Linked DNA regions of Homo sapiens: region 2 is linked to region 1. The links are contacts of gene promoters, found by promoter capture Hi-C in blood cells and fetal thymus (Javierre and others, 2016). All regions are on one chromosome and are shown on one strand. Each heading gives the region's core, a stretch centred on a gene start or on the middle of the fragment in contact. The rest is flanking DNA. Distances are from core to core; before and after follow the strand shown. Region 1 holds the start of CLASP1-AS1 (CLASP1 antisense RNA 1). Region 2 holds the start of HS6ST1 (heparan sulfate 6-O-sulfotransferase 1).

Region 1 (5,273 bases), core at 1,299-3,798:
TGGTACTGATGCTGTACTATAGTTATTCAAGGTGCTAACACTGGGCAAGGGTGGGTAAAGGGGGCATGAGATCTCACACTACACTTCTTTGCAACTTCCTGTAAATCTATAATTATTTCAAAATAAAAAGTTTTAAAAAATTCAGCCACGTAAAAATGTCAGGCTCATCCCAGACTTACGCATTGAGTGTTGCTATAAGGCAGAGACAGATGCCTTCTCGAGTACGGAAATTCTTGTGTTTGAAGCCTCCAAGCATTCTGTCCCATACGTACTGCAGATGACAAAGAACAGGTGAGGAAAGGAGAAGACTGCTGCAGCTGACACTTTATAAGGGAGCAATAGAAGGCAAGCCTCTTAACGAGCGCCAAATTAGTCCCATCCTCTACCAACACATTTAATCCTCTCGAGAGCATACTGGAAAATGATGACATCTATCATGTTATCAAGTATATCAAATTACAATTTTTAAAACACATTCATTTACATAATTGCATTTAATTCTCCCAAGAACCCTGAAAGAGAGGTATAACTGTCCTCATTTTATGGGTGAGGAAAGCAAGGCCAAAGGAGCTAGTGAGTTGCCAAAGATCACACACTCACACTGGCCTCTGTTTTTTCTGATCACCCCCCAATAAAGGACAGTAGAAGCTGGGAAAGCAGGGCTGTTTTGGTCCATCCCAGCAGCCCCAATTCACCGGAAGACAGGGGCCAGGGCTCCAGCCAGGCCTCCTGACTCCCCAGACACCACAGCTCCCTCTTTTCAGAGAATTGGAGAGTCGGTTACATAAATGAGCTGAAGAGTCTAATGGATTAAAACTAAGTATATTAGATTCAATACCCCCATGTTAAATCCACTAATTTACTCATCTCATAGTTTTGTGACTTATTTAAATATCTTGCATGGGGAAACAGATTGAATGCTGTGAAAATTTTTATCTGTAATACATCAGCTTAAGTCTATGGAGTCACACCATTTGTGCAAGTACACACACACACCCTCGCACGTGCATGCACGCGCACTGGCCAGCTGACCTCAAAACACATCTCTTGCCCCTACCTGGGGATTAGCAGCTTGATCCATGATCTTTAGCAGCAGAGTTTGGTCCTGCTCCCTCACAGAGTCTTTAGCATCTCCTAGTCTGTCTATTAGACTTGGCAGCACTGAAAATCAAAATGGAAACTGATCAAATGAAACCCTATTTGGGGGTCTGTGGTCACCAAGTATTCCTATCTCAATTATGTGGGAAGACAAACCCCTGACCTAAATGATGTATCTCATTCTAAAACCACTCATCTTTGCTCACAGCTCTACTCTCCTTGCTGAAGTCCATGAAAGTCACCAAAAGAGTCTGCAAAATCCTTTGCATGGACAGATACACTATTTGTCTTCCTCCTTACCCCACGTTCCTCCAGCCAGTTCCCAACGTATTTGTAAGCTGATAAAAATGGAAGACCTTGAGAGGAAGAGTCAACAGAAAGGAAAATTTAGGTAAAACACAAGGAGAGGGGCTCCAGTATATGTGTTTGGGGGTGGAAGGAGTGGGCACTTATGAATAAATCTTAAGTTTCATCACTATTGTGTATTTTTAGTTTTACATCACGCCCATACACACATGAGACAGAGCCCAGCTCTCCATCTTCCCCGACATACCCAGGGTGGACCCTCCCACCAGTGGTCCAAGTGCACCTGTAGACCAGAGATCAGCTTATTTTAAGAGTTTGTAAACCTCTATTACATGAGATATCCCTGAATAATTCAGCTAATTTAGGAGGAAAATGGAACACTATTAAAATATCAAATGTCTAAAAGTAAAAGCTTTTTTTAAATTTGTAAACAGTCGGTGCTCATGACCTTTTCAGAAGGAGCATATTGGTCGGAAAGTTAACAGTAAAGAATACATGTGTACCAACGTAAAACAGAGAAATTCCATAAGGAAATGGTTGCATAGAGATGCTTAGTGTTTATACTACCCCCATGAAACACCGGAGGTCAGGAATTTAGAGGTATTTAAATCTATGAAATCTGTGGGTTTTGTTTCATTTTGCTGACATACTGTTTTCCCTTCAAAATAAGAGTGAACATTTACTATACATTTGTAATGACATTTACAATCAAGGTGAAAATAGTCATGCCAACCATAATCATCTGGAGAAAAATACAACTGGCTTGGTTTTATAGGATTTCTCAAGGAAAACTGCCTCTCATTAAAGGGGACCGGGGTCAGGGTAAAATATGACTTGGTTGGCACTAAAGAGTGACAGCTAATTTAGCATAAGAAATAAAAATGGCACTAATATTTCATATTAGAACACGTATTACTAAGTTCCGTGTGAGAACACAGTGAAGCCAGTACAAAGGTATGGGGGAGGGTAAGGGCGCCCGCAGGCCCAGAGGCCAGGGGAGTCCAGCTGGAAGGGAAGGCAGCGGGGCGGCCGACCCAGGCTGCGAGTGCTTAGGGGGGCTGCGGGGGAGGGCGGGGACTGGCTGTTTGGGAGGAGCGGAAGGGAGGGAGAGGGGGCTGGAGGGGAGGCAGGGTGGCTGCCGGGAGGGTTTGGGAGCCGGGGAGGCCGAGGGAAGGCTGGGGGTCTGAAGGGGCCGGGTCCGCTCCACAAGTGCCGCAGCTCACCTGTGCCGATCTGCGCCTTGAACCGATCCTGCAGCCGGGTCACCAGGGCGGACAGGATGTCCATGCCCAGCAGAACCACCTGCAGCGGGAAACACCGGGAGCCTGTTAGCAGCCGGCCTGCGGGGCAGCGCTCCCGCCCACCCGCTCCGGGGAGGCCTAGACATTTCCGGCCCAGACGCAGTCCGAGAGTCCAGACGCATGCCGACTGGAGGACCAAAGAGATTAGCACGAAGAAGGATGATCTTCCACAAAAAGAGCTATGTACAGCTATAATGGAAAATACTCGGTGAGGAGAAACGAAATAAAAGGCAATACAGCGTAGCCAAACCCGGGTTAGCTGCGGGTGGAGTTCAAGAGCGCGCCGCGGTCCCGCCCCCGCCAGCCCCGCCCCGGCGAGAAAAGCGTATGCAAATTTTCGAGCGGCCGACGCGCGGTCTTCTGGGTAAAACCGAGCCGCCGCTTTTGCGACCCTTCGGGAGCCTCAGAAAACAAAGAATTGGGGTGTCGTCGAAAGCTGTGGAGGCTGGAGGTAAGCTAGCTACCAGACCGACTAGGGCGAGGCTCACGAATTAATTACCACAACCCTACCAGGTATTGGCGCTTCCTGCTTGCAGCCCAGGGACTTTCTATTATAACCATCCTTTTCTTGGGGTTGCGCTACTGTCCAATGAGCGCATAGTGAGGGCAGTACTGCTAACGCCTGAACAACACACCCGCATCAACTAGAGCTTTTGCTTTATTTTGGTGCAATTTTTGGAAAAATGAAAACCTGTTTTCATAGACTTATCAGTTCAAACAGCAGTAATTCGTAAATAAACTAGTACTTTGTGGTTAAACCAGTAGAGGGTGCACAAGACGCGTGGTTTTAGTGTCGCAAGTAAAGTTCTTTCAGTTTTTGCGGTGATTAAACGGGAAGGATTTCAACAGAACTTCACCCCTTTAACTTTACGCCGATCATCAACTGTTCTGTAACTTCCTTATGCTGAGTCAGCCCAGTAGTCTAGGTCAAGTTTCAATAGGAGACGAAGTTTCAGTAGGTCTTTGCACCTCACATAAAATGTAATCCAGGTCGGGCGCGGTGGCTCACGCCTGCAATCCCAGCACTTTGGGAGGCCGAGGGGGGCGGATCACGAGGTCAGGAGATCGAGACCATCCTGGCTAACACAGTGAAACTCCGTCTCTCCTAAAAATACAAAAAATTAGCCGGGCGAGGTGGCCGGCGCCTGTAGTCCCAGCTGCTCGGGAGGCTGAGGCAGGAGAATGGCGTGAATCCGGGGGGGTGGAGCCTGCAGTGAGCAGAGATCGCGCCACTGCACTCCAGCCTGGGCGACAGCGAGACTCCATCTCAAAAAAAAAAAAAAAATAGTAATCCCAGCACTTGGGGAGGCCGAGGCGGGCGGATCAGGAGCTCAGGAGATAGAGACCATCCTGGCCAACATGGTGAAACCCCGTCTCTACTAAAAATACAAAAATTAGCTGGGCGTGGCGGCGCATGCCTGTAGTCCCAGCTACTTGGGAGGCTGAGGCAGGAGAATCGCTTGAACCTGGGAGGCGGAGGTTGCAATGAGCCAACATCGGGCCACTGCACTCCAGCCTGGCGACAGAGCAAGACTCGGTCTCAAAAAAAAAAAGAAAAAGAAATGTGAAATAGTGAGCTTTTTGTGGAATGGTCCAATAGTCAGATTAAACCCTTCCTCCGTATGAAGCAGTTTTGCACTGTGAGACTTCATTAAACATGCTTCCAACACAAAGCCGGGCACTGCCCAATGTTCACACAACAACCAAACAGGACGGGGCAACAGTTAGGATTTCTTGTATACAGCCTGTGCCTGCCTGCCTCTGGCGGCTGATAAAAGCAAAAACTGCAGACTTTTCTATTCAGCTTTGAAATCTACTGCTTCAAAACTGAAGGAATCTAAATTGGCCCAATAATCCCCACAATACATAAAATGTTCTTGCAAGAAACTGGCTACTTGACAATATTGAAGAAAATAATTTTTAAAACTTTTATAAAGAGAACAATTTGTAAACAGATTTTTTAAATAATATAATAATGGTATAAACACTTTAAAATAATGACTCTACTTTCCAGCTAAAAGGGATTAGGTTTCACACTATGACTTCCTTCCAGAGTACAGTATGAAGTGGAGGAGTAACTATCCTGCGGAGAAAACTGACAGACGCAACCTCAGCCAGATGGTGGAGGTCAACATCAAGTACACGTCATATGATGTCATGAAAACGGCATTTTGCCTGTGACAGTCCTTCCCAAGACCCTTAAGCTCAGTCTAAACATGAGGAAAACATCAGAGAAATTCCAATAGAGGGGCATCCTACAAAACACCTGACCAGTACCCCTCAAAACTGTCCAGGTCATCAAAAACAAGAACTCTGAGAAACTGTCACAGCAACAGGAGCCAAGGGAAACATAACAACTAAAGGTAATGAGGTATCCTGGAAAAGAGTGTGCAACAGAAAGATGACATTTTTCCTTAGGTAGAAACTAAGGAAATATGAATAAAGCATGAACTCTAGTTAATAATAATACATCAATACTGGCTCATTAATTGTAATAAACCACATTAATGTTAGATATAATAATGAGATATTTGTAATTTTTCTGTAAAAAAGTTTATTTTTTAAAAA
Region 2 (5,273 bases), core at 1,793-4,292, 6.8 Mb after region 1:
ATTAAAAAAGCAATCTACCTAGTGCCTGCAACAGAACTGAAGGGAGTGGAGGCGGAGAAGAGGGACTCGGAGGGTGGGGTGCTGTCACCTGCCCGGTAGCACAACCCACTTCCAGAGTGGGTGGCAGAGGGGGCCTCCTGACGGCCCTGGAAGCCCCTCCCAACCCTGGCGCATGCTGCTGAGCTAGCAATTTCCAGGCTGGCAGCCCACCTCCGCCAGAGGCATCTGCGTTTTCCATTCTTGCTCCACACATGCTCCCTGGGCAGGGGGAGCCGGGCCTTCCTGGTGTAGCACCTGGGGCCCCATCGGCCCCACCTGGTCCTCCCACTCTCATGGACAAACTCCAGAGAAAGGAGGCCAAGGCTCTTCACCCTGGGGACCCACAGGCGTGCGGGGCTGCAGGAAGAGCATCCTGGTTGCAATCTAGGGCTGAGGTGGCCTCTGCTGAGCAGGCTTGTTTCAAAAGCTCCGGCTTCTTGGCGGCCCGAAGCTTCCACGCAATCCTCTTAGGCTGCCGAGCTAAGTCCCTCTGGCAAAGGGGGTGACCCCCATCCTTGCACCCCCCACAGGTAGGGAGGCGTCTGTTGGTATTGGTCAGTGACCAACTCTGGGAGCCTACTGCTCTGACTGGTGGAAGGGTGGGTGGGGGCATGGCTGTGGTCCCAGGCACAGCTGAGCCTAGCACAGAGAAGCTGGACCAGGGTTAGGGGGGCCCTGCAGCAGGAACGTGCATCTGTGCAGAGCAGACTAAGTGCTGGGCCGGAAGCAATCCTTCAGGGGCCCTAGACAGGCAGCTCTGTGACCGCCAAGTGTAGAATGTGGCTGTAAGAGGCTCAGAACATCACCTCCCAGGCTGGGAGCTGCAGTGTGTGTGTGTGTGTGGGTGTGTGTGTGTACAGTTGGGGGAGGGGGGAGAAAGAAAAGTGGGAAGATGCCCCTCCAACTCTAGGACCCCAATTTCCTGACAGCCTGAGAAAGACCACAGAGCAAGGATTGAGGTCTGTGCAGGGGAGCAGTGTCTCGGACTCTGCTCAGCTCCAGGCTGGCTGGACCTTCCAGGCTCCCCAGGCACACCTGAGAGCCTACAGCCTCTGGACCCAAGAGTGCCAGCCAACACGCCTACAACCGCCCAGCCTCCTACCACCAGCCTGTCTGCAAATTCAGTCCTAAGGCAAATTTGGAAGAGAAACAAAAGGCAGACAAGAAGCCCTGCTCCTGGCCCTTCCCAGCCCAGACTTTGGGGAGAAAGGCCCCGCAGGGCATCCCTGCAGGACGAATGGGCACCAACAGGAACAGGAGGAAAATAACCCCAACTTTAACTGCTGGAAACCCAGCAGCACCCCAGGTTCCCCTACAAACGGCTTCCCAGAAGAGCTGCCCCGGCACCCCTCCCATGCTCTGTGTCCTCACGCAGCTCAGCTCTGACATGGGGCTGGGGGACCCCAGAGAAGGGGTGTGGCAGCACAGGTTCCCTGGACCAGCTCAACTACCCCCAACCTGGCTGGTAGCTTCCTGGGGAAGGTGGTCCCCCATCGGGTGGCTTTTGTTCCTCTCTCCAGGCAAGCCTGTGCCTGGAAGAATTCGGCTGGCAGGCCCCACTGGGAGGACAGGCGGTACTGCCTCCTCCCCGCCCCCAGCCCCAGGTCAACAGGGCCTTTGTTCTACCTGCACACACCGGCAGGCAGGCGGGCAGAGCCAGCCCCCTTCCCTGGCAGCTCCCCCACCCTCTGAAGGCAGGCACTCCAGGCACAGGGGCGGCACCTCACTACTCTCACTTCCACTTTTGGGACCACAGCACCGAAGCGGCACGGGGAAGCCAACACTCCAGGTAGGCCACGCACACACCCAGAAGCCCGCGTCCCCAAGTCCGGCGGGCCAGACCTCACGGCGCACAGCAGGTAAGGTGGCCCGAGGGCAGCGGGCGGGGACCCTGGAGAAAACCCGGGCGCTGCGCAGTCAAGCCGGCAGTAGGGCAGCACAAGGCAAGGAAGAGAGTGAGAGCGAGGTCAGAAAGCGCGGTGACAGCCGGCTCACCCAGAGGAGCTGGGAGCCTCGGGCGCTCGGCAGGTCGGGAGGGGTGCCGGCGAGTGGGGGCCCCCAAGAGGGCAGAAGGGGGTAGGGAAGGCAGGGCCGACCCAGTACAGCACGGCGGGCATACGGCCCGGCCTCGGGGGCGCAGCTGCGCGAGGATCCCGCCGCCCGGGCGCTCACCTGGGCGTGCGCAGCGCGGCGGAGTCGCGGCGGTCCAGCACGCCGGGCACGCAGTTGGTGAGCTCGGTCCAGTCGGCGTGCAGCCCGCAGCTCCAGCCGGTGGAGAAGCGGGAGAAGAGCCAAGTCTCGCGGCGGTTGGGCCGGTAGCAGGTGCACTTCTTCTGGCCGGGCCGGCAGTCGCACGGCACCTCGAGGCGTACGTTCTGCACGAGGTGGCGGCCGAAGGTGGTGCCGCCCGTCTTCTGGATGTGCAGGAAGACGATCACGTCGTCGCCCTTCATGTCGAAGCGCAGCGAGCGCTCCAGCTCGCGGACCGGGAAGTAGTACTTCTTCTCGTAGTGGGGGTCGGGTGTGGGGAACAGGTCCAGGTCGTCGGGCGGCGCGCGGCCGCCGGGCGCGCCCAGGCTCAGTCCTGGGCCCGCGTACTGGTACAAGATGAGCATGAAGCACACCGAGCCCGCCACCACCAGCACGAACTTGCTGGCGCGCTCAACCATGGTCCTGCCGCCGGCGCGCCGCCGCCGCATGTGTCACCATCGCCGGGGCCCGGGCGCGGGGCGCGGGGCCTGGGAGGGCAGGAGGCGCGGGCGCAGCTGCCTCCGCCGCCGCCCGCGCTCCGGCCCGGCCCGGCTACTCGGCGCCCAGGCCGCCCGCAGCGGCGCGGGCCCCGACCCTCCGCGGTGCCATGGCTGCTCCCCGCCCGGCCCCGGCTCCCCGGGCCCGACGCCCGACTCCGCTCCCGCTCGGCCCCGCTCCCGGCCCCGGCCAGCACAGCGCTCTCCGCGCCCCCAGCACCAGCCCGCTCCGCTCCACTCCGCGCCGAGAACGCTCTGCGCCGCCCCGCGCGCCGCCGCGTCTCCGCAGTCCGCCGCCGCCGCCCCGCCCCGGTCCGCCCCTGGCCCGCCCCCGTGGCGTCTCTTGCCGTCGCCGCCCGCGCCGATCCTCGGCCCCGCCTCCGGAGTGCCGGGGTTCGCCGCGGGTGCTGGGCGCGGGACCTGGGTCTGCTGCGGTGGCGAGGCCGCTAGCAGGCGGGCAGCCAGCGACTGGGAAGTGATTCCGCCCTCAGGGGAGTGGGGGACCAACCGGCAGTGCGGAGCCGAGGCGTGGGAGGCTCTCCTGGCGGGGGCCGCGGTGAGGGGGCGCGGCGGCTGGCGCTTCTGGAGCCTGGGTCCGTACCCCCTCCTCCCCAAGTCCCAGCCGCCCACGTCCCCGCAGCCCGCGCGGGAGGAAAGGCCTTGACCTTGCACGCTGGGGCGCTGAAGTTAGACGCTAGCCTACTGGGCTGCACTTCCAGGGACCAGGGCGGCGGGGGCCGCCCACCACCAGGACCGAGAGGGAAAGCGAGGCTTTCCTTTCCTGCTCGACCCCCTCACCCCTGCGGCTGGCTTTGGGACAGTGCCCCGCAGCCCCGCATTGAAGAGATGTTGGGCTGTCTGCAGAGGCCTGCGGAGCGGCTTTATGGCTTCCTCCTTGTTTGAAAAGAATATCAGACGAGGTGCATTTTCCCCCATCCATGTTTATTATACTCCAATGAAAGAGTTATAAAACATTGAGCCAATTCTTAAGAATCGTGAGTGCCCACCAAATATTCTGTCTTTCGTGGGTTGGTTGGAGAGTCCAGCGGCCCGGGCCCAACCTGGCTGCGGAGGGCTCGCTCCACGTTGGCTCGTGTGTGGGCCGGGTGGTGCGGGCTCCTCACTCGCCGCCGCCCAGCCTGGCAAGCACGCGCGGCATTCGTGGGGCGGGGGGTCCCGCCAGGTGCCCACTCACACTGCTTGGGCTCTGGCAGTACTCGGAGGCTGCAGCCCGTCGGAAGCGCAGGAGTGGGGCTGGGACCTGCCAGGATCTCACAGCTGCAGGGCCGGCCGCGGTGGGCCCTAGTGTGTTGGTTCAGGCCAGCGAGGGCTCTGGGAGCGAGTCTGGCTGCCAGGCGTGGGCTCCCAGTGTCCACGTCAAGCCCTGCCGGGGACGGGGTGGGGGGGGAGGCGGGGTGGTGCCCTGCCTTCCGTTCTGTTAGGGACCGGAAGCGATCATGGGGTGTCAATTATGCCTCAGTAAAGCTGTTAAACGTAGACAACATCACACCAGAAAGCCCTCCTGGAAGCAAACCCAGAGAGCTGGAAAAACCAACACCCCAAACCCAGCTGAGCGGGCGGCATGCATTTTCCAAAGGGACCGCAAGAATATCCGCTGTGGACAGGCGGGTGCAGAACCCTCAACACAGCCCAGCGCACCCTGGAGTCCATGGTGTGGGGTCCTCAGTGGGACCTAGGGCCCCAAAGCCCCTGCTCATCTTGTAGGCTGCTTTAAAACTGTCCCTGGCCCGAGGGTCCTGGGGGCAGCTTGGACAAGCTTCTCCAGAAGTGACTCATTCCTATAGGAGTGGGGGTGCAGTCCCCATGGGACACAGGTGGGGCCGCCCTGCAGTGTGCTTGGACCTGCCTGCAGCCCCTTGACGCAGTCTGTGCCTGAGCCCTGGGGAGCCTTCCTGTGTGGCCTAGGGGAGCACAGCTGCCCCGGGTCCACCCCCCAGATGTCCTTACCCAGATAAGGATCCTCGTGCTACATCATAATTAAGGCTGCTCTTTTGGAGACCTGCTGGGTGCCAGGCATTGTAGAGGTGTCATTTCCAATTCCATCAGCAAATCTGCGGGGGTAGGCTGTGATATCCATTTACAGAAGAGAAAACTGAGGTTCAAAGGGGTTAAGACCCTGGTTCCAAGGTCAACCACTCTCACCCCATGAGAGTCAGCAGAGCTGGGATCCTGATTCCTGCTGTGAGCCCCAGAACCCTCCCCTTCCCCACCTCTGCACTTGCCCCAGCTCCCTAGGCCAGGGATGAGAGCGTCTACAGGGGCCACTCCTGAGAGCCTGGTGACCGTCACTGCCACCAAGGGGGAACGTGGGCCCAGAGTGTTCAAGGGAAAGCTGGAGCAGCTCCGAAGGCCAACGAAGCCATCGGTACTTGGGCCATGGCTCCACCCTGTGATGATCTCACTGTCCCAAGGGGGAAACTGAGGCCCAGGCAGGGACGAAGTGCCTGTGATAAGGTCCCACCCTTG

Evidence for each region. The method cuts DNA at HindIII sites, captures the fragments that hold promoters and counts their contacts. A CHiCAGO score of 5 or more calls a contact.
Region 2: the fragment with the promoter of HS6ST1 here is called in contact with the fragment with the promoter of CLASP1-AS1 in region 1 in 1 of 17 cell types (naive CD8 T cells); the score reaches 5.5 in naive CD8 T cells.

What each region holds. Positions count from the first base shown.
Region 1 is chr2:121,527,620-121,532,892 of GRCh38, forward strand. CLASP1-AS1 (CLASP1 antisense RNA 1) reads left to right here and starts at 2,549. Exons shown (of 2, transcript XR_001739683.2): 1 at 2,549-3,156; 2 at 4,759-5,273. CLASP1 (cytoplasmic linker associated protein 1) reads right to left here. Exons shown (of 41, transcript NM_001395891.1): 3 at 2,628-2,706; 4 at 1,058-1,161; 5 at 180-271. RNU4ATAC (RNA, U4atac small nuclear) reads left to right here and starts at 3,261; the gene lies at 3,261-3,390. RefSeq lists a silencer at 2,419-2,618 and an enhancer at 2,809-2,938. The HindIII fragment of the contact is 3,511 bases long and covers 1,815-5,273 here.
Region 2 is chr2:128,315,826-128,321,098 of GRCh38, forward strand. It overlaps HS6ST1 (heparan sulfate 6-O-sulfotransferase 1), which reads right to left and starts at 3,043. Exons shown (of 2, transcript NM_004807.3): 1 at 2,212-3,043. The coding sequence starts at 2,738. RefSeq lists an enhancer at 901-1,050 and silencers at 2,052-2,281, 2,976-3,385. The HindIII fragment of the contact is 4,073 bases long and covers 489-4,561 here.